7 separate regions of the Homo sapiens genome follow, and regions 1, 2, 4, 5, 6 and 7 are each linked to region 3. Evidence: promoter capture Hi-C in 16 types of primary human blood cells and fetal thymus (Javierre and others, 2016). All regions are on one chromosome and are shown on one strand. The core of a region is centred on a gene start or on the middle of the fragment in contact, and the rest is flanking DNA. Distances in the headings are between cores, read along the strand shown. Region 1 overlaps FNDC3B (fibronectin type III domain containing 3B). Region 2 overlaps TNFSF10 (TNF superfamily member 10). Region 3 holds the start of FNDC3B (fibronectin type III domain containing 3B). Region 4 overlaps PLD1 (phospholipase D1). Region 5 overlaps FNDC3B (fibronectin type III domain containing 3B). Region 6 overlaps PLD1 (phospholipase D1). Region 7 overlaps PLD1 (phospholipase D1).

The links. Contacts are between HindIII fragments. The CHiCAGO score rates a contact against its expected background, and 5 or more counts as called.
Region 1: a contact is called between a fragment that was not itself captured here and the fragment with the promoter of FNDC3B in region 3, in 1 of 17 cell types (neutrophils). The highest score is 5.5, in neutrophils.
Region 2: a fragment that was not itself captured here is called in contact with the fragment with the promoter of FNDC3B in region 3 in 1 of 17 cell types (neutrophils); the score reaches 5.5 in neutrophils.
Region 4: a fragment that was not itself captured here is called in contact with the fragment with the promoter of FNDC3B in region 3 in 2 of 17 cell types (M2 macrophages and endothelial precursors); the score reaches 7.2 in M2 macrophages.
Region 5: a fragment that was not itself captured here is called in contact with the fragment with the promoter of FNDC3B in region 3 in 1 of 17 cell types (neutrophils); the score reaches 5.9 in neutrophils.
Region 6: a fragment that was not itself captured here is called in contact with the fragment with the promoter of FNDC3B in region 3 in 2 of 17 cell types (M2 macrophages and M0 macrophages); the score reaches 6.5 in M2 macrophages.
Region 7: a fragment that was not itself captured here is called in contact with the fragment with the promoter of FNDC3B in region 3 in 1 of 17 cell types (M2 macrophages); the score reaches 5.3 in M2 macrophages.

Annotation. Positions count from the first base shown.
Region 1 is chr3:172,373,757-172,376,456 of GRCh38, reverse strand. The region is part of intron 23 of FNDC3B (fibronectin type III domain containing 3B); the gene reads right to left. Among named protein-coding and RNA genes, the nearest start is that of GHSR, 73 kb to the left of the region's middle. The HindIII fragment of the contact is 5,833 bases long and covers 1-2,700 here.
Region 2 is chr3:172,508,571-172,511,270 of GRCh38, reverse strand. It overlaps TNFSF10 (TNF superfamily member 10), which reads left to right. Exons shown (of 5, transcript NM_003810.4): 4 at 1,950-2,054. Among named protein-coding and RNA genes, the nearest start is that of TNFSF10, 14 kb to the left of the region's middle. The HindIII fragment of the contact is 3,718 bases long and covers 1-2,700 here.
Region 3 is chr3:172,038,311-172,041,010 of GRCh38, reverse strand. FNDC3B (fibronectin type III domain containing 3B) reads right to left here and starts at 1,433. Exons shown (of 26, transcript NM_022763.4): 1 at 1,240-1,433. RefSeq lists silencers at 81-450, 511-760, 941-1,040, 1,181-1,360 and enhancers at 279-945, 946-1,613. The HindIII fragment of the contact is 7,479 bases long and covers 1-2,700 here.
Region 4 is chr3:171,659,011-171,661,710 of GRCh38, reverse strand. It overlaps PLD1 (phospholipase D1), which reads left to right. Exons shown (of 27, transcript NM_002662.5): 21 at 2,410-2,498. Among named protein-coding and RNA genes, the nearest start is that of PLD1, 150 kb to the left of the region's middle. The HindIII fragment of the contact is 171 bases long and covers 1,323-1,493 here.
Region 5 is chr3:172,357,670-172,360,369 of GRCh38, reverse strand. All of the region lies in intron 22 of FNDC3B (fibronectin type III domain containing 3B), which reads right to left. Among named protein-coding and RNA genes, the nearest start is that of GHSR, 89 kb to the left of the region's middle. The HindIII fragment of the contact is 7,884 bases long and covers 1-2,700 here.
Region 6 is chr3:171,696,810-171,699,509 of GRCh38, reverse strand. All of the region lies in intron 12 of PLD1 (phospholipase D1), which reads left to right. Among named protein-coding and RNA genes, the nearest start is that of PLD1, 110 kb to the left of the region's middle. The HindIII fragment of the contact is 3,778 bases long and covers 1-2,700 here.
Region 7 is chr3:171,676,746-171,679,445 of GRCh38, reverse strand. It overlaps PLD1 (phospholipase D1), which reads left to right. Exons shown (of 27, transcript NM_002662.5): 17 at 1,752-1,880; 18 at 2,613-2,700. Among named protein-coding and RNA genes, the nearest start is that of PLD1, 130 kb to the left of the region's middle. The HindIII fragment of the contact is 624 bases long and covers 1,040-1,663 here.

The DNA.
Region 1 (2,700 bases), core at 13-2,512, 340 kb before region 3:
AAATTTGCCATAAAGCTCAGTTTTTAAAGGAGTTTGGAGAGGACTACTAGGAACAGTATGCTTTCCTGCCATGCCACAATCTAAGGAGAGTATTTCTTTTGGAAAATAAGTTCAATATATATTTGGACCCAGACCCAATTATAATATAAGCAATAGCACTCACAGTCACAAAGAAATTTACTGAAGCAAATTCATTACTCTAAGTTTGTAATCTAAATAGAACAGATAACATACATATCAATTTAAAAATACATCAAAATCTTCTGTTTCTAGACTATTGTGTTCCTTTAACTTCTTGTTTTGCTCTTGTACTGGAGAATTTTATTAACTGTTTAAAATTGCATTCCAATTTATGAAAAACATAGTGGAAACAGCTGATAGCAATGAGAAATTTAAAATTTTATTTATGTCTGGAGACAGTGTTAATTAGAATTACAAAAATGACCCCATTTGTGTCTAGAAAAAAAGTGGGAGTGACCTTGAAGACTCTGGAGGAGACATGACTGCAGAGGATTTCAGCTTTACAGTTCAATCACCTTATTTTCAGTGAAGGCGGAGTTAGGCAGCTCCAGGAGGCCACCTTGGAGCTGCAATTCCCCATGGAGAGGAACTTGGGAACTGGCAGCCAGGTGCTCCCAGCAGAAGGGAGCTGAGAAGAGGAGGGAAAGGGGTGGTTCTTTCTTCCTTCAGCCTTTTCTAGAATAAGCATGCGTCTAAGCAGTCCTCTAATGTAGCCCACTGTCTACTCCGGCAATAATAAATCATGATCTGCTCGTTGCTCTGATCAAAGCCATCACTGCTTTGACTGGCCTGCCTTCCCCAAAAAAGGGCATGGGAAGAAATTATGAGAGGGGCATGGAGAAGAGCTCTTTTATTTTGTTCTCAGAATGTGTATGGAAATAGCCAAAATAGATGGTAAGTAATTCCTATGTCATGTAATTAACCAGATACTGAGCCTTCAGGAGGGAAGGAGACGATGGGCATGACAGAGGCTCTTTCCTGGGTGAAACAAGTATAAGGTGGGAAGGGGAGACATAAGGAATCCTAAGAGCTTTGGGTGAAACAGCCCAAGGCAGGAAAGCATCAAGTGTCAATTGGGCCATCTAGAAACACTGATGTACCCTGTCCTTTTGGGGCCTGTGCCCTAAGATGAACACACAGGCCCAAGGTCAGAAGGGCTGAGCAATGATGCAAGATGATCATAGCTAATGCCTTCTGAAGACTTTCTCCAGTCATCTCACTCTGAAGTGTGACCAAGAGCCACAGGGAGACATTAAAGACAGAGGTAGCAAGTTGGCACATTATTAAAAAGCTGACACCTTCCTCACTTTAAAGGTTTTCCCTACCCTTTCCTCTTCTTAAGGAAATAAAAGAGGTAAGAATAGAAAGAGAACTGCAAGAATGAAACCATGACATGAAAGGGATGAGAAAGACTTGGTACCAATTTTTATACTATGAAAATCATTTATCACAGTCATTTCCAATTTCATGTCATTTTACTCTCTACAACAAAAAAATTCATTAAATACATAAGAAAATAGATTCTAGTTAAACTTCTTCTATACCCCCTAAAGATCTGGGTACTTGGTAGGCTCTCAGTAAATGCAATTTCTGAGACTGGAATTGGCTCTGTAGACTATGAAACACCAGCAAGTAGTTTAGCCTCTTCGTGCCTCAGTTTTCTCATCTGTACAATCAGTGAAATGATGGAACCAACCTCAGAGATATTGTGAGGTTTAAATGGGTTAATAAAAGAAAACTGCTGGCCGGGCACAGTGGCTCAGGCCTGTAATTCTAGCATTTTGGGAGGCCGAGGCGGGCGGATCACAAGGTCAGGATTTCGAGACCAGCCTGGCCAGCATGGTGAAACCCCATCTCTACTAAAAACACAAAAATTAGCCAGGCGTGGTGATGCGTGCCTGTAGTCCCAGCTACTCAGGAGGCTGAGGCAGGAGAATCGCTTGAATCCGGTAGGCAGAGGTTGCAGTGAGCCAAGACTGCCACTGTACTCCGGCCTGGGCAAGAGCGAGACTCTGTCTCAAAATAATAAATAAAATAAGTAAATAAATAAAATCAAAGTGCTTAGGCTAATCCTGATATATAATAACTCAATATGTGTTAGTTATAATCATCTTAATGCTGTGAAGACAGAATTTTTAGAAAGGACTCCCTGTGTGTTCTGAGAGACCACGGACATCACTGCTAACACAGATTTTTTTCTAGGTGGAAAGTCAGCCGCATGGTAAGAGGCAACCCTGCAGAGCAGGCTGCCATGTTGGCCTCAGACATGAGCTGTGGGACTACATCTGTGAGGCTGTTTACTCTCCCTCAGGCGGGTCCTGCCAGTGAAGTACAGGCAGAGACGCTTCCTTGGAACACACTGGTGAGGTCTGAATTTGACGGCTCACATAAAAGCCCCAAGCTCTGACACAGCAGGCCTCAGATAACTGTTGATTCTAAGTTTCTTTCTGGTAAACCCTAGCATGAAATGTACATGCTGACAGTAATGTCTGGTTCCCCTTGCTCCTCCAATATCAGACAATAAAGACCTACCAAAACATAATAAAAAGCACATATGCCAACACAAGAATAATATAATTCCTCTTTCATCCCAGTTCTATAATTATTTCCCATCATTCCAGGAGGCAAAATAAGAGAGAATCTTCCTTCTTCGGGGCCAGTGATTTATGGCCATTTGTA
Region 2 (2,700 bases), core at 201-2,700, 470 kb before region 3:
AATGAAGTCCCTTAAAGTTACCCTTCTTTGTTTCAGGCCACCACTGGGCTCCAGGTCTTTCTTTACAAAAGCCTCCTCCTCCATCATCCTTTTCCCAACAATCTTTCTACCCACCCACGATCCTCATCCTGCGGTCTCCACCTGTGGCCACACCACCCTCTTGTTCATGGTCAGCAGCCTTCTCTCGACCCACCTCTCTGTGCACTACTGTTGCCCAGGCTGGCTTCTTTAGCTTTCCATCTGGCACTCCATCGTACTTTACAGCTCACGTAATTGTCACCTCTTCAGAGAGGGCTTCCCTGGACACCTTTCTAAGTAAATTCCCTGCACTCTGTTATTTTTATCACATGTACCTTGTTCATTTCCTTTCAGTTATTTTTTTAAATCTGTTATTCTTTTCCAATGCAATAAACTTCTTCATCACTTGGCACCCCCATTTTCCTTTATTAAATATGTTTTCTTAAATATAAAGGACAGGACCTGTTCCTGGGGTCTAAGCCTTCTTTCTTATCATTTCTCCAAAGGTGAAAGCAGTAGTGAGAATGTTGAACACTCCACCTATTCAGATGAGGCATACCAGATTAATGGTCTACAGCAGATAGATGCATGTACTGTTTTCAGTGTTGGAAGAATAAAATTCTTTGTTATTCATCCCAGTAAGGTGAAACACAACTCTGTATACCAAGATATATCCATGGTACCTCGATATACATATTTGCAGGTTTCTTTTTTGGGAGGTGTTTGCTATAACCAGTTGGAAATTTCCTCTTTTAAAAATTTGCTTTCAAATCTAGGCTTTCCTATCCATATCCTTGAAATGACCTTAACAAATCTGTTGCCCAGGCTGGAGTGCAGTGGTACGATCATGGCTCACTGCAGCCTCAACTTCCTGGCCTCAAACAATCCTCCCACCTCAGCTTCCCGAATAGTAGGACTACGGGCACAGGCCAACACGCCTGGCTGATTTTTCTATTTTTTATAGAGACAAGGTTTCACTATGTTGCCCAGGCTAATCTCAAACTCTCAGGCTAAGTGATCCACCCATCTTGGCCTCCAAATTGTCACTTTCTAATTCATATTTTCTGTAGAAGGCTGTAAGTCCCTTGAGGACATGGTCAGTGAAATCAGTGATTAATATTTGTAGCCCTCTGGGGTGTAGTGCCTTACCCTAGCACTGTCTGTTTGATGAAAGAATATAATTTACTTACAACCAATGTAAGCACACTTGGGAAGTTTGAACTGATTCTTTTAGAGAAAGTCATTTGTTACATTTCTTTTTTTTTTTTTTTTTTTTGACGGAGTCTTGCTCTGTTGCCCAGGCTGGAGTGCAATGGTGAGATCTCTGCTCACTGCAAGCTCCGCCTCCTGGATTCACACCATTCTCCTGCCTCAGCCTCCTGAGTAGTTGGGACTATAGGTGCCTGCCACCATGCCCAGCTAATTTTTTTGTATTTTTAGTAGAGATGGGGTTTCACCGTGTTAGCCAGGATAGTCTCAATCTCCTGACCATCTGTTTGTTGGTACCACTCTGTTTATTTCTGTATGTAATTCAAGGTGGAAATTTGCCAATACGTAGTTATTTGCACAATTTAACTCAGCAGGATTATTACACAGCTACAGCTATTTCTTTATTTATATTTTTGGAAAAGGGATAGAATCTTCACTTTGTTGTATCTTCACTTTGTTTCTCTTTGGACCCTACCCGTGAGACACTAATAAATTATAATCCATGTTACTGCTTATTCTTTCCGTGTAAAGTACTTTTCAAGTTGATCATAAGCTGAGGTAGGTTGATCATAATATCAAAATGTTATTTTTATGAAAACTCATAGAATCAACTTTGGAAGCCCAGTATGCTTACGATGGCTGATTGACAACACCTATGAAGAGCAAGGTATTGGAGAACTAGTTTGGCAAGTGTTGATGACCCTTTATCATTTCTCTTTTAGAAAAGCAACAAAATATTTCTCCCCTAGTGAGAGAAAGAGGTCCTCAGAGAGTAGCAGCTCACATAACTGGGACCAGAGGAAGAAGCAACACATTGTCTTCTCCAAGTAAGAGAAACAACAAATAAGTGACTTAAGGGAAAATAATGGAAGGATTGTGCCAAGTAACTTATTTTTTAAAGAATTTTATCTGAAATGTTTATATGGCTATCTACAAAATGCTCAGTATTAATCAGATCTCAGATTGACTGTTTTCAGATGCAAGATTACAGACAAACAGCTCAATTATTGCCACGACATAACTGGCCTCAGGAAAATTACAAAGTGGGAGAATTTTGTCTTTGCAGTTTTCAGGATCCCATTTTTTTTCCTTCTTTAGAGTAATTTCTCGCTCTTTCTTTCTTTCTTTTTCTTTCTTTCTTTCCTTTTTTTTTTTAGACAGAGTTTCACGTTTGTTGCCCAGGCTGGAGTGCAATGGCACCATCTCGGCTCACTGCAACCTCCGCCTCCAGTGTTCAAGCAATTCTCCTGCCTCAGCCTCCCAAGTAGCTGGGATTACAGGCACGCAGCTCCACGCCTGGCTAATTTTGTATTTTTAGTAGAGATGGGATTTCTCCATGTTGGTCAGGCTGGTCTCGAACTCCCGACCTCAGGTGATCCGCCCACCTCGGCCTCCCAAAGTGCTGGGATTACAGGTGTGAGCCACTGCACCCAGCCTTTCTCTCTTATGATTACTTCTTCCATCCCTCTGCAC
Region 3 (2,700 bases), core at 184-2,683:
TGTCTGGATAAAATGCCATTGCTTCCCTTCGTCTGGGATGGCAGGGTGGGAGCTGAGATTCCAAAAGCTCCAACTCCGACCGCGCACTCCTGGAAGCCTCCCCGCCAAAGGCGCCGCCGGGCGGCGCAGCCCAGTCTCCCGAGACGGCGGGCCCGGGTCCTCCGGTTCCCACGGGACGCCGGGACCCGGACCTCTGGGAAAGTTCGCGGGCACAGCCCGAGGCCCCACTTTCTGCCGAGAGTGACAGGCCCTTCCCACGCCTGCCGGCCCCAGCCCAGCCGCGGGCACCAGACGGTCCGCGCGGCCCCTCCTGGCCGCCTCGGGGCGCAGATTCCGCCCGCCCGCCCTATCCCCGGCCGAGGCGCCCCTCGGGGTGACCGACTGACCGGAGCTCCGCTGGCCCACACACCGGGTCGCCCGCTCCTTCCCGCCGCGCCCCGCTCCCCCGCCCGAGCTTCCAGCCGCCGGCTCGCCAAGTCCGGCCGCGGCCGCCGGTTACCGCCCCCAGCCCGGGGGGAGCCCGGGGGGCAGGACGGGGAGGAGGACGTGGCGTGCTCGGAGGTGGCCAGCAGCGGGGCGGGGAGTGTCCCGGAGAGGCCCAGCCGGGGACGGGGGGGCCAGGCCGGCGCGGGCTCGGGACCCTCCCCGCGAGCATCCCCGGGTTCGAGGCCCCCGACCGCCCCCGCCGGCGCGGAGAGGCGGCCCCAACTTCCAGCCCCACTTCGCACTCCCGCCCTCTTCCCTCCACCATATGGAAATCTACAGCCTCAGAAAGTGACACGTCGAAGATTCCTCGGCCTCGCCGCCCGCCCTCCCCCTCCTGGGCAGCGTTCCTGCCGCGGAGATTCCGGGAGGGGGAGCGGATTCCTCGGACAAAATCTGCTGGGAAGGCTGGGGGTGGGGGGAGGCCGCGAGCCACTGCCCAATTTTTTTTAAGAGGAATCTACCCGTTTCTTTCACTCCTCCAAACCCTGAGGCAGGGGGCACAGGCGGGGGACCCCAGCCCAGCAAGGCGGGGGCCGCCCCCTCCCGGGTCCCGTGTTCCCGGGGTGCCCAGGCGAGCACGGGGCGCCCCAGCACTCCGGCGCCAAGTTTTTGCCGGGAAGCCCAGGGCGCTCCCGGGACAGGGACGCACTTTGGCGGACTCGGCGTCAGGCCGGGGCTTTCCAGTGCACCGGGACCCGGCGATCGCGCTCGGGGTCCCGGTCTCCTCTAGTCCCCGGCTCTTGCACGCCTTACCTTCCCTAGGGCTGAAACGCGGGGCTCTGGGCGCGCCACACACCGGGTCGCCCACGCCTTCCCAGCCGGCAGCCTGGAGGATCCCTGCCGCCCCCTTCGCTGCTCCCGCCGCCGCCGCTCTCCTCCTCCAGCCGCCGCCGCCGCCGCTCAAATAACTACCAGGAGGGTTTGATGGGGGATTCCGCCATGTCAATGATGTCGGGACCACATGGGGATTTGGGGCCCGCCCATTACCGTAAACCGCCGAATATACCGGCCGCCACAATCGCAGACTCGCAGAAGCTGTTGTCCCCCGGCCCTGCCTAGCTAAGCAGAAACTCCTTTTGGTTCAGCCAGACTAAAGAAACCTGAGGCTTAGGGAACTAACAACTCCTGAATGGCGAGGGCTGCGCGTTCTGCAGATCGCCAAAGTAATATAAAGGCAATGTTTACTCAGTGATAATTAAGCCTAAAACTGACTTTTTTTCATTTACACATATATTTCGCTTTTTGTTGTTGTTAACCCCCACAGCAACCTTGTGAGCTATATTACTCCCACATTTCCCACAGCATTTTATTCATACAACTAACATAGTATGAGCAATTTTTATTATACTTAAGTTAAAATCTCTCTTTCCTCTTTCTTTTTGTTTTTTGTTTTTTGTTGTTGTTGTTGTTTGTTTTGGGGACTGCAGGCACGGGGCAGGCATGAGCCACCGCACCCTTTTTTTTTTTTTTTTTTTTTCCTTTTTTGGAAGAGAGGGGGTCTCAATAGGTTGCCCAGGCTGGTCTGGAACTCTGTCGCTCAAGTGATTCTCCCGCCTTGGCCTCCCAAAGTGTTGAGATTACAGGCGTGAGCCAACTCACCCAGCCTTATTTCACAATGCGTTTCTCAGGGACAAAGACTGTTTCTTACTTTTATCTTTATATCCGTAAAATATAGCACAGTGCAAGGACCACAATAGGACTCATTAAATAACTGTTGAGTTCATATTAAGTCAAATGTAATGTATTTCTGTTGTACAGGCTCTAAGAGGTTAACAGACTGCATCCCATGCCACCCCTCAGATTATTCAGGAGACAAGAGAGCAAAAGTTAGCCTAGAGAAGCCCCTTCCATCCATAGCTGTCCAGGTATTCTGAATAGCTACATTCAGCCTCAACTATTAAGCTACAAAGGAGCATTCAGGGAGTCACTAGAGACAATGTATTACTTTTGTTAACCTAAAAAATAATAATAGCAGTACATAATACTCTGTTAAAGTCTAAAGAACACTAAGAAATAGCTCCTTCCTTCCCTTGTTCATTTGCCATTCTTTTGGGGAGATTTTAGCCTTTTTTTTTTTTTTTTGGAGGCAATGGTGAGTCCAGAGAAATGGGGACCTCTCTCCTAAATGGCTTATTTACTGTGGAGCTCCTCAAAGGGGAACTTGAAGCCATCTTTCTATAACATAACTCCAATTCTAGGTCATAGTCCTGCATG
Region 4 (2,700 bases), core at 159-2,658, 380 kb after region 3:
ATTTCAGGAGAGCACACACAGGGGTGAGTTGCTAAAATAGAGACCACTGGATGCCACTGGTTTGGGCATGGCGGAGTAGGGAGAGTGCAGGGAAAAGAACGTGGAAAAGGAAGATGTGAGAACATTAAGAGCAGGTACCACCTTCTTCAATCCTGTGTGAACTACTATTGATTAGGAAGCTTTTTTTCATCCCAGAATTTTTAGAGCATATGAGAAAATCTGGGGACACTGAGTTTAGTTTGGGAACTTAAATTACTCTTCAAAGTGAATATAAAAATAGTTCAGAGAACTTGAAAAACCCTGAGAAAATAAAAAGTCACAATAATGGAAAAAATAAATCATAGCATAATTTCCTTCCTTATTTGAGTCTTTTCTTTCCCATTGAATTTTTTAAAGGTAGATAGGGGAATGGGTTAACTGAGGAAAACCATTCTAGCCCTGTTTTTCTTCCCCTTGGGTCCTGGCCCTCTCCCGCTCTGCACAGCAACAATTCATTAGAGACAAGCAGGGAAGAATTGGAGCTTTATTTGTTTCATGAGCCTGGCTAGAGAAACCTAAGTTAAATATAATATATTAGCTGGCTAAATGCAGTGTGGTATCCTGAATGGCATCATGGAATAGATATAGGACATTAGTGGAAAATGAGCGAACTCTGCATAAAGTCTGGAGCTTAGTAATGCTATTAGTATTATTAATTTAAACAATTATACCATAGAGATGGAAAGATGTGAAGGCTGGCTCATCTATTGCCCAGAATCATTTTGCTTCATCTCTTTTTAGTAGCATTAACATCAGCTTTTCTGGCCGGGCACGGTGGCTCATGCCTGTAATCCCAGCACTTTGAGGGGGCCAAGGCGGGTGGATCACCTGAGGTCAGCAGCTCGAGACCAGCCTGGCCAACATGGTGAAACCCCGTCTCTACTAAAAATACAAAAAAATTAGCCGGGCATGGTGGCGGGCACCTGTAATCCCAACTACTTGGGAGGCTGAGGCAGGAGAATCACTTGAACCTGGGAGGCGAAGGTTGCAGTGAGCCGAGATCATGCCATTGCACTCAAGCCTTGGTGACAAAAGTGAGACTCCATCTCAAAAAAATAAAAAAAATAAAAAATAAAATAATCAGCTTTTCTTTTTAATGTGACAGTAGTATTAAATGATGTCAGTAACGCCATGTAGGTATACATAGTTGGGACATAGACCTGGTTGACACTCCTCTAGTCAAGATAAGCAGTCAGCATTCATCCGACTCTTCCAAAAAAGGAGAAGTAAAGGACATGACATGTAGCCAGTCTGTGTTTACAGCTGCTGAGGCATGCTAAGCTTCTTTATAATATGAATTCAGAAAAAGAAACATGGTTTGGTTGCCAATGAGATTTTGATTGTCTGATGCCCTAAGGGGAATCACATTCTCAAAAGACTTTCTGCACCGTGTCTTCCTGTAAGTTTGTCTTCTGGAGGCATTTTACAGATTTATGCACTTAAGTATAAAAGCTTATATAGTCATAAAAATGATAATGCCACAAAGGGATGATAATTACGAGTTGTTACATATATATCTCTTTACCTTGAGATGATTAGCAAATATTACTTTGTGATAATTGTCCTTATAAATTACAGATGTGTTATAACAATCTATTCTATTTGAACACATAACATTAGTAATATTTGCACCAAATTTTTCACATTCCTTTATGCAGCAACAAAATATTTTGCATTGTTATGATAATGTTGTAACTTGTTTTCTAGTAACAGTTTTAAAGACTATTTTGTAGATATATAAATAGCAGAAGTACTTAGAGGAAAAAAACATTTTTTATTTTATTAACTGGCTTATATATATGCAACATACAAAAGAGAGTTGAGGCTACTTAAAATAGAAGTTCAGAGATAATAAGAGACCCAGACAAACAAGACAAGGTGAAAGCAGATACCAGGAAATAATGGAGAAAGGGTGGAGAAAACTAGACCAGGCTTTACCATCTACTCTGTTAAAAAAGCAAGCTTAGCATGAGATAGAATGTTTGCCAATATAGAATTTTTAATCATAAGCATTTATACAACATGTGAATCTGAAAAAAACTAGTTTCCCCATTGATTAAATTTGCAGTGTTCCTAAGTATTCTGAGAATGTAATTTAGAAAATCACCTATAAGGAATTCTCATGGTGAAATAATATAGTGTAACTTTCCACTTGATTAAGTGTTACAGGTGATATGACCTGGAATCAGATGAGACCCTGAGTGAGATGAGGCGGCTTTTTTTCTGTGTCGTTGACTTTCTTGATGTGATTTCAGTGATCAGAACACATCTGCTGTGTGAAACATTTTAAAAAATATATTACAGTATTGTTCTTACGTATATTGCTAAGAAAATAAAGACTAACATGATTGTCTTGTTTATTTCTCATAGAACCAGTTTTTCATAAGCTGTGCTGATGACAAAGTTGTGTTCAACAAGATAGGCGATGCCATTGCCCAGAGGATCCTGAAAGCTCACAGGTAACAGCCTTTGGCTGAGAGTTCTCGCTGCAGATGTTCTTGTATTTATTACTAAAATGACTTTGCAAAGCCCATTTTTAAAGTACTGTCATTTCCTAGCAGCTTAAATTTGGTTCAGCCAGCAATAGGTTATTGATGCCTTTAGTCTGAGTCAGTTGCTAAAGATTTTTGACTGCCCTTTCTAGGGAATTTGAATTCTTCC
Region 5 (2,700 bases), core at 190-2,689, 320 kb before region 3:
ATTACATCTGACAAATGATTTGTAACCAGAATGTATAATGACCTCCCAAAACTCAGTTAAGGAAATAATCCATTAAAAATGGGCGGAAGACTAGAATAGACACTCCACCAAAGAGGGAATACAGATGGCAAATAAGGACACAAAAACATGTTTGACATCATTAGCCATTAGAAAAATGCAAACTAAATTCGCAATGTAATACCATTATGTTAAAAAAGTGCTGGCAGGGATAAGGTACAACTGGAACTCTCCTATTTCACTAGTGATAATGAAAACTGGCATCACCACATAGGAAAACAGTTGCCTTTTAAATATATACTTATTACATGACCCAGCAATCCCAATCCCAGGTATTTATTTACTCTAGAAAAATTAATATTTATGTTCACACAAAAACCTGCACACAAATGTTTACAGCAGCTCTACTTATAATCACCTAAAACTAGATAAATATCTCCTCATAGTTTGGAACGTAGTAAATACTCATCTCTGATAAAGCAGAGCAAAAACTCCATTACAAAGGGCCTTACTTTTCCCAGATTCTATTACACTGGGGCTGCATCAAGTCTTTTGTAGATAAAGCAATATAAGTCTCTCGGTATAACACTGAAAGATTAGAACTCTTCCTTGCCTCCCATATGAGTCTTATAAGATTGCTTTATGGTATTAATAGAAGAGTTTCTTTCTATGATTGGAATGTAACATATTTTTCGGCAACTGGAAATGAAAAATCTTTTTAAAAAGGCAGTCATCATGATGGTAGAAATTACTATCCTCTTTCCCTTCTCAGGAAAAGGAAATTAAGCCGGACATTAAGTTTTAGTCTTTCTTCAACAGTGTAACACATTTCCTCACCTACAAGGTTTATATTAAGGTCCTTCCAGTGTCCAAACCACCATTCCTTCCCTTTACTCTAGGTACAAACATTCCTAGATTCCAGAGGCCAAGATCCTTTCTGCCATCTGCTGGCTCACCTTGTATTCTAGGTGATCCTACCCTTTGCTCTGTGCCACCTGAATAGCTCTTAGCTACTTTAATACACAAAAGAAAATGAGGTAATGAGTTCCTTAAGATTGTTGTTCTATTCTATACTCAAGAAAAAAAATGCTAAGAGATTTAAATCACTTATAAGAATTTAAAAATAGTTTAGAAGATACAAGTATCAAGATATAAAAAAAATTTAGATTTGATTTTTGGCTTCTGTTGTAAATTCATTTCCTTCCTCAAAGCCTCCCTAGTATTTTGGTAAGTACTAGGTTCTTTATATCTTTAGCTCTAGGGTTCTCTAATCTTTCACTGAGTATCTCCTAGGCATATAATCCTAGCCTTAACACACACCACCGCCACCATCACCACCACCACCACCACCACCACCACCACCACCACCACCACCACCACCACCACCACCACCACCAAGAAAACTGTGGTAGCATTTAACACTCTTTAGCAGTGTAGCCTCTTTGGGAATCCTGCTCATCAATTTGGAGACCTTGGGGAAATTATTGAACACTTTTAAGTAACAGCTTTCTTATCTATAAATTGGGGACAGTGACTTTTTTCTGCAATTACAAAGAAGATTACCTAACTAAGATAAGGGATGTAAGAAGCACTTTCCAATTTTTAATATTTTATACTCCACAGTAAAATCAGGAGAGGATTCAAGGCAGCCAAAAGCACTAGCAAATTTTCAAGTGTTAATTTTTGGAGTCATTATCCTGATGACTTCTTTGAGAGTGTCACGCCATCCCAACAGTGCTGGCACAGGGACAGGTCTTCACTGCGGCTGCACTATTACACCACCTCACTTTACAACATGAGTAACTTGCTGATCCCACTTCCTCCAAGTAATGGCCAAGGACTCAGCAACAGCTGAAAGGATGGGCTTCTTTCTAGGCCATCCGCAGCAAGGTGAGAGTGAGACAAAGATCTCAGGAACTGAAGAAAACAACAATGGCAACCATCACTACACACATTGAGAACTTGCTCTGTTCCAGAAAATGCACTACAGAGTGGGAACTACTATTACATCTGCCTTTAGAGATGAGGAAATCAAAGTTAAATGCAGAGAGGTTAAATAACTTGATCTAAATGACAGAGTGACTACTAGGGGTTGAAAGCTAGGTTTGACATCTACAATATCATCTCTGATTTCTATGCTGACCCCATAAGGTAGGAGCTACTTTGTCTGCTTTACAACTGAAGAAACTGCAGCTCAGCTAGGTCATGTCAGACACATGTTAGATCCAGGCGTGAGCAGAACTCCCTTTAGGTGCAAAGGCCTGTGTGTCTGGCACACCATACTCTTATATCGTAACAGGGGCCAAATATGGTTACAAATCCTACCAAATGACCATTTTTAATTCAAACCACACTTTCAGTTCAACATTGACCGTCTGCCAAGGAAGCAGGCATTTAGAAGAGTCAACAAGTTTACTTCACATTATTTAAACAGCATCTGGCCCTGAAATCAACTACCTAGATTCTAAAATACTCAATTCAACCTATCCTACATTTTTACAAAAACACATTTTGTTTCAGCGAAAATACGTGAACATTTACGTGTACAGCTGATGCACTGAACTAACATTAATTATTTCTAATGATGATGTAACATTCAAAATTGAAAAAAAAAACTGAGGAACTGATAAAATGGAATGAAATGATGTCTTGTTGCATTCTGGGGAAAATATTAAGGCCTCT
Region 6 (2,700 bases), core at 193-2,692, 340 kb after region 3:
TTTTGAATCAGTTATGGGCAGCTAATTTTATAGGCAAAAAAATTATAATAAAATTTCATCATTGAATAATAAATGATGAAATGGAGCATAGCATTTAATTGTATTCATTATTTTGTCATTTAAGCAAAAGGAAAACTCATCTGGAGAATGGTTTCAGCTAGATGGGGCTAATGTGGTGTAGAATAATATTAAAGGGGGAGGAATAGTCACAGTTGGTGGTGTTTTTTCTCTGGTTTTGGTAAAGTTCCTGGTAAAAATGTGAAACTGTTTCCTGTGGAGTTGACCCTGTACATTCTGGGTGAACATTGAATGTGTGCTTTTTAGGTATAAAAAGTAAATAACTGAAGCAGCCTAGGCTCACTAATGACTGCATTCATATTTCTAGTGATTTTTTTAATGTAATAGGCCCTTAAAATTAAATCAGTTTAAATTAAAAATAGATCTGGGATTTATTATTTAGCATGTCCAAATTAGGAAGTGCTAACTTTTTGCTATTATCAGAAACTGTCTTAACCTTTTTTTTTTTTTTTTTTGAGATGGGGTTTTGTTCTTGTTGCCCAGGCTGGAGTGCAATGGTGCAGTCTCGGCTCACTGCAACCTCTGCCTCCCAGCTTTAAGCAATTCTCCTGCCTCAGCCTCCCAAATAGCTGGGATTACAAGTGCCCACCACCATGCCTGGCTTTTTTTTTTTTTTTTTTGTATTTTTGTATTTTTAGTAGAGACGGGGTTTCACCACATTGGCCAGGCTGGTCTTGAACTCCTGACCTCAGGTGATCTGCCCACCTCGGCTTCCCAAAGTGCTGGGATTACAGGCTTGAGCCACCGCTCCCGGCCAACCTTTTTTTATTCTGTCATTAAACATGCTAGCAGAACGTGTGGAGCCTAAATAATTGGGGTTAGCATTTTTCTGTTTCTCATAGCTTTCACTCATTTCTTCTTTCCTATCCTCTGCATTCCACTTTTTATTTCCCCATTCACTTTCCCCTTTTCTTTCTGTATCTTTTCCCCATGCATTTACTTGAGTATTTCTGGGGATATCCACAAATATAGTCAGACCTCACTGCTAATATTGAAAGCAAAAGAAATTGATAATATTTATTTGAAACACATTCTGCCAAACAACATCATTTTGATGGATAGTCTAGTTTGTTTCATCAATAGAATTCCAGTTACAGAATTGGACATTTTGATTCTGAAAACATTATTCACATATTTATTAAATAATTCATCATACGGTTACTGTCTCCTATGAGCCAGCTTCTACGGTAATCACTAAGAATGCCACCATGAATCAGATTTGAACCTTGCCAGTGGCGAACTTGCTGAGGGACTCATGTCTTGGGCTCAGTCCTAGCCTTACCAGACTACTTTCTACCTATTGAATGGGCAGTAACTTTCTCTATGTTTCTCTCAATGAAATGGCATCTTTTCCATTTTCCCTCAAGATTCTATTTTAGTACATTTTTCCAGCCTTGCGTAGCAATCTGTACTAATACTAGTAAATTTTTGCTTATAATATTTAATCAGCACCTCACTGTTTTAGGTTTCAATCAATATGTATTTATTGAATGTTTTCTATGTGCAGGGCATTTGGCTAATCATATGAGGATGTACATAAATAAAAGCCATGATTCTTAAGTTGAAGGAGCTTATAAAATCTGCAGAAGTGTCAGTTGCATGCAGAAACAATGCCCCGATTTAATGGCAAGAGGGAAAGCATTGGGCTTTCCCAATGGAAAAGGTCCAGTTGGGGAGCTCCACACAACATGAAGGATGTGGGGCATTTAGGATGGACAAACATTTTTAAAAGGGAAAGAAGAACTTTCTAGGTGTAGTAGATGTAAACAGCAGTGCCAAAGACTTTGTCAGGCACGGTAGGGTGGTTCATCACATCTGAGTGTTAGCATAGCCGGATGGGGGATTAAGCTGGAACTGCTAGTTGCAGCTGGGATGCAGAGGCTTTGTGAGCCAAGCTAGTGGTTTGACTTTATGGGAGACAGTGGGGCAGTACTGTGCGGGGCAGGGCGGTGTGGGGAAGCAGGGGTGGTCTGATCAAAATAATGTGTCGGACCCCGTCTCTACTAAAAATACAAAACAATTAGCCGGGCATGGTGGCGGGCGCCTATAGTCCCAGCTACCCGGGAGGCTGAGGCAGGAGAATGGCGTGAACCCGGGAGGCGGAGCTTGCAGTGAGTCGAGATTGTGCCACTGCACTCCAGCCTGGGCAACAGAGCAAGACTCTGTTTCAAAAAAAAAAAAAAAAAAAAAAAAAGGTGTCCGGAAGGTGACTCTGATAGTGGAAGAAACTGGGAAGAGCTGATTCAGAAAGCTAAAGTTTAGATCACTTGAAGATACAGTGTCTACAAGACATCTAAGTTAACTTGAGAAAGCTAGTAAATGCCTCGGTAGGGCTCAGGAGGAAGATCCTGCAGGCCTGGCTTCCACCTCTTGTTTGCTGGCATGCGCTTGTTTACTGCCCTTGGCATACCTGTCTGGTTACCTTTTCTGTGTCTAGTGTGACTTCTCTTTACTTTTTTGGCCCTTGAACCCTGGCGAGGTCCCTCGTGAACACCATGGCCAAATAAACGTTATTGCCTGATAACAGTGCTTCATTTCCATTTCATCCACTTCTTGGAGCTGGTAATTTTTAAACTGTGGGTAGCGATATTTAAAATTTCCTAAAGAAATAGTAATACAATT
Region 7 (2,700 bases), core at 102-2,601, 360 kb after region 3:
TAAAGAGCCTATAGATGAGCAAACAGACCTACCCGTACTTTGGCCTTTCAGTCTCATAAAGCAGGAAAATAAATCACTGGGAGAAGTCAATAGAAGTCTATTTTTAACATGATTTCATTTTGCTAATCTATGGCATTTTAAATCATTTTTCTTCTGTAGAAAACTTTAATAGCCTTTGAAAGGTTAATGATTCAGTTTGAGATAGAATATTAGCATTGTGTGTGGTGATTACATAAAAACATTTGTTCTGCAAATATTTATTGATTGCCTGGGTGCTTGGAGCTACTGGCAGTGAGAAGATTTGGTTCCCACTCCCAAAGAGTTTATAGACTGGTGAGGCATTGATGCGGGCAGGGGAGCATCCTGATACAATTGCGTCACAGAGTCAGAGGTGTTGGGGCAGTTGTTAGTGGGATGACAGCAGTGCTAGTGACTGCCTCTTCCTTATGGGGAGATGGCAGGTGATAGCTAATGTGGCTCTTGAAGGATGATTAGGATATCAGGCCAAGAGGGAGAAAGGAGCATTTCAGGTAGAAGTAATAATGTGCCAACTGCATGGAGACATGGCAGTCCACACCTGTTATAATACAGTGAAACACGTGATTTGCATGGGGCCTGGGGTTGGGTGGGGAAAAACAAGGACTAGAAAGATAGATTGGCACCAGTTTGGGAAGAGTCTTCTATGCACACTAAGCCCTTAGGACTTGAGCTTCCTATAGGCAGTATGTGAACCTTCCAGGGTTTTAAGCAAAGAGTGCATTTTACAAAGACAGTTCTGGGACAGTGTGTTGGTGGCAGGACCAGTGTAGTCCTCTCACTGGCTACTGCAAGCAGTACCATTTATTCATTCAACACATATTTTTGCATTCAGTGTCTATTTGTTAAATGCCTCTTTTGTGCCAAGTGCTGCGTTTGTGATTTGTAATTCTGCATCTTTTTACTTCATTGTCTTTGTATTTAGCCGTAAGTCAATGGTCTCGGCACAGTTATTTGTGAAATGCTATAGTAGATTGCTGCTTTTGCACCTATATCATAAGCTTTCATCTGTTGTTACCATATTTTTTATAAATGCCATCTATGATTTGAAGTATATAAATGTTAAAGCGCAACAGATTTTAGCTGTTATCTAGGCCAAATTCTTCATTTTACGCATAATGGATTTATGATCTAAAAAACTGAAGCTCAGTGTCACTTAGCTAATTAATTCCAGGGCTGGAACATGGGCTATCTGTAAATTTGAGGTTCTTGCTTTAATGCAAAAGAATTATGCATCAGGTGTGCACCATGTTGGTTGAGGAAAAAGAAGTGGCATGGTGTCTTTATTGCCCCTGCGTCTCAGGTTTCTCCACCTCTCCCCTCCCCGCCCTTCCCACTCTGCCCCTGAAAGCCCCCCACCAGCTTTACTGCTCTCATAGTGCCACCTTGTGAGTTCTTTATTCACAGTTAATTCTGTGATAGTTCTTCCAGTGATCTGGTAGGTGGTGGAAATAAGTTACTCAACTGCCTGAGAAGGTCAAATTTCATTGTTTAATGATGAATCTTGTTGTAGCCCTAACTGCCCACTAAAAGTAAACTTGTAAGGACTGTAAAACCTTGTTAGCCCACAGCCTGTAATAGAATGGACAGATGCCACCCTAGTTGTGTCTTAAGAAATTAAGAAGCTTTTAGGTGTTTAATAAATGAGAGTTGAGCCTCCCTTTCTGGGACTCACCTGAACCACAGTCTCTGAGGGGGTCTTGCTGCATTCACAGATACCGGGTCCATCCGTAGTTTACAGACAGGTGTGGGAGAGCTGCATGGGGAAACCAGATTCTGGCATGGAAAGGACTACTGCAATTTCGTCTTCAAAGACTGGGTTCAACTTGATAAACCTTTTGCTGGTGAGTATCATAATGGTGGGGTGCTGGTTATATTTTGTCTTTTACCTTTGAACATCTCAGCAAGTATACATGTGCATGATCTAAATGCCTTTTGTTTTGCTTCCGTTGATTTTTGAAAATTTTTTAAAACTTTGGAGACTAGATTTAGTCATTAGCATGTGCTTAAGGACTTTTTTTTCAGTTATAATAAGAAAAGAACATGAAATAGAGCTGAACTGTCTGAAAAATCCAGATTTTTATAGGCATATTTTGGGGGCAATAATCAGTAATTTTTCAGGAAATGGTAGGCTCCCTTTGATCATCTTCTATTCTGCTTATTTCCTGCATTTCCAGCGTTAGAATGGCATATTTTCAGGTTATCACTGGGTTTATATGTTTAAGAGGAGATAGAGATGGCATTGCCTGCCATTGTTTCAACAGGATAAAAAATAAAAAATATAATATCAAATACACAGCCTTAGATAATTTGTACCAACTCACATCTTGCCATGTCTAGTGATTATCTAATCCTAAGTGAAACGGAAACATATGTGGGGAAGTGCCTGGGAGACTATGTCCCTGAATGTGAAATCTGTTTCCCTTGATTATAAAAATGTTGTTCTATGCAAGCCAAGAAATATATACCTAGTGGGCACTAACCCACGTTTCCTTTTAGTTTCATAGTTGGAGTCAGAGAGACTTTGCCCCAACACTGAAGTTAATGACTGATCCTTGCCTGGTGCACCCGGGCAGATTTCATTGACAGGTACTCCACGCCCCGGATGCCCTGGCATGACATTGCCTCTGCAGTCCACGGGAAGGCGGCTCGTGATGTGGCACG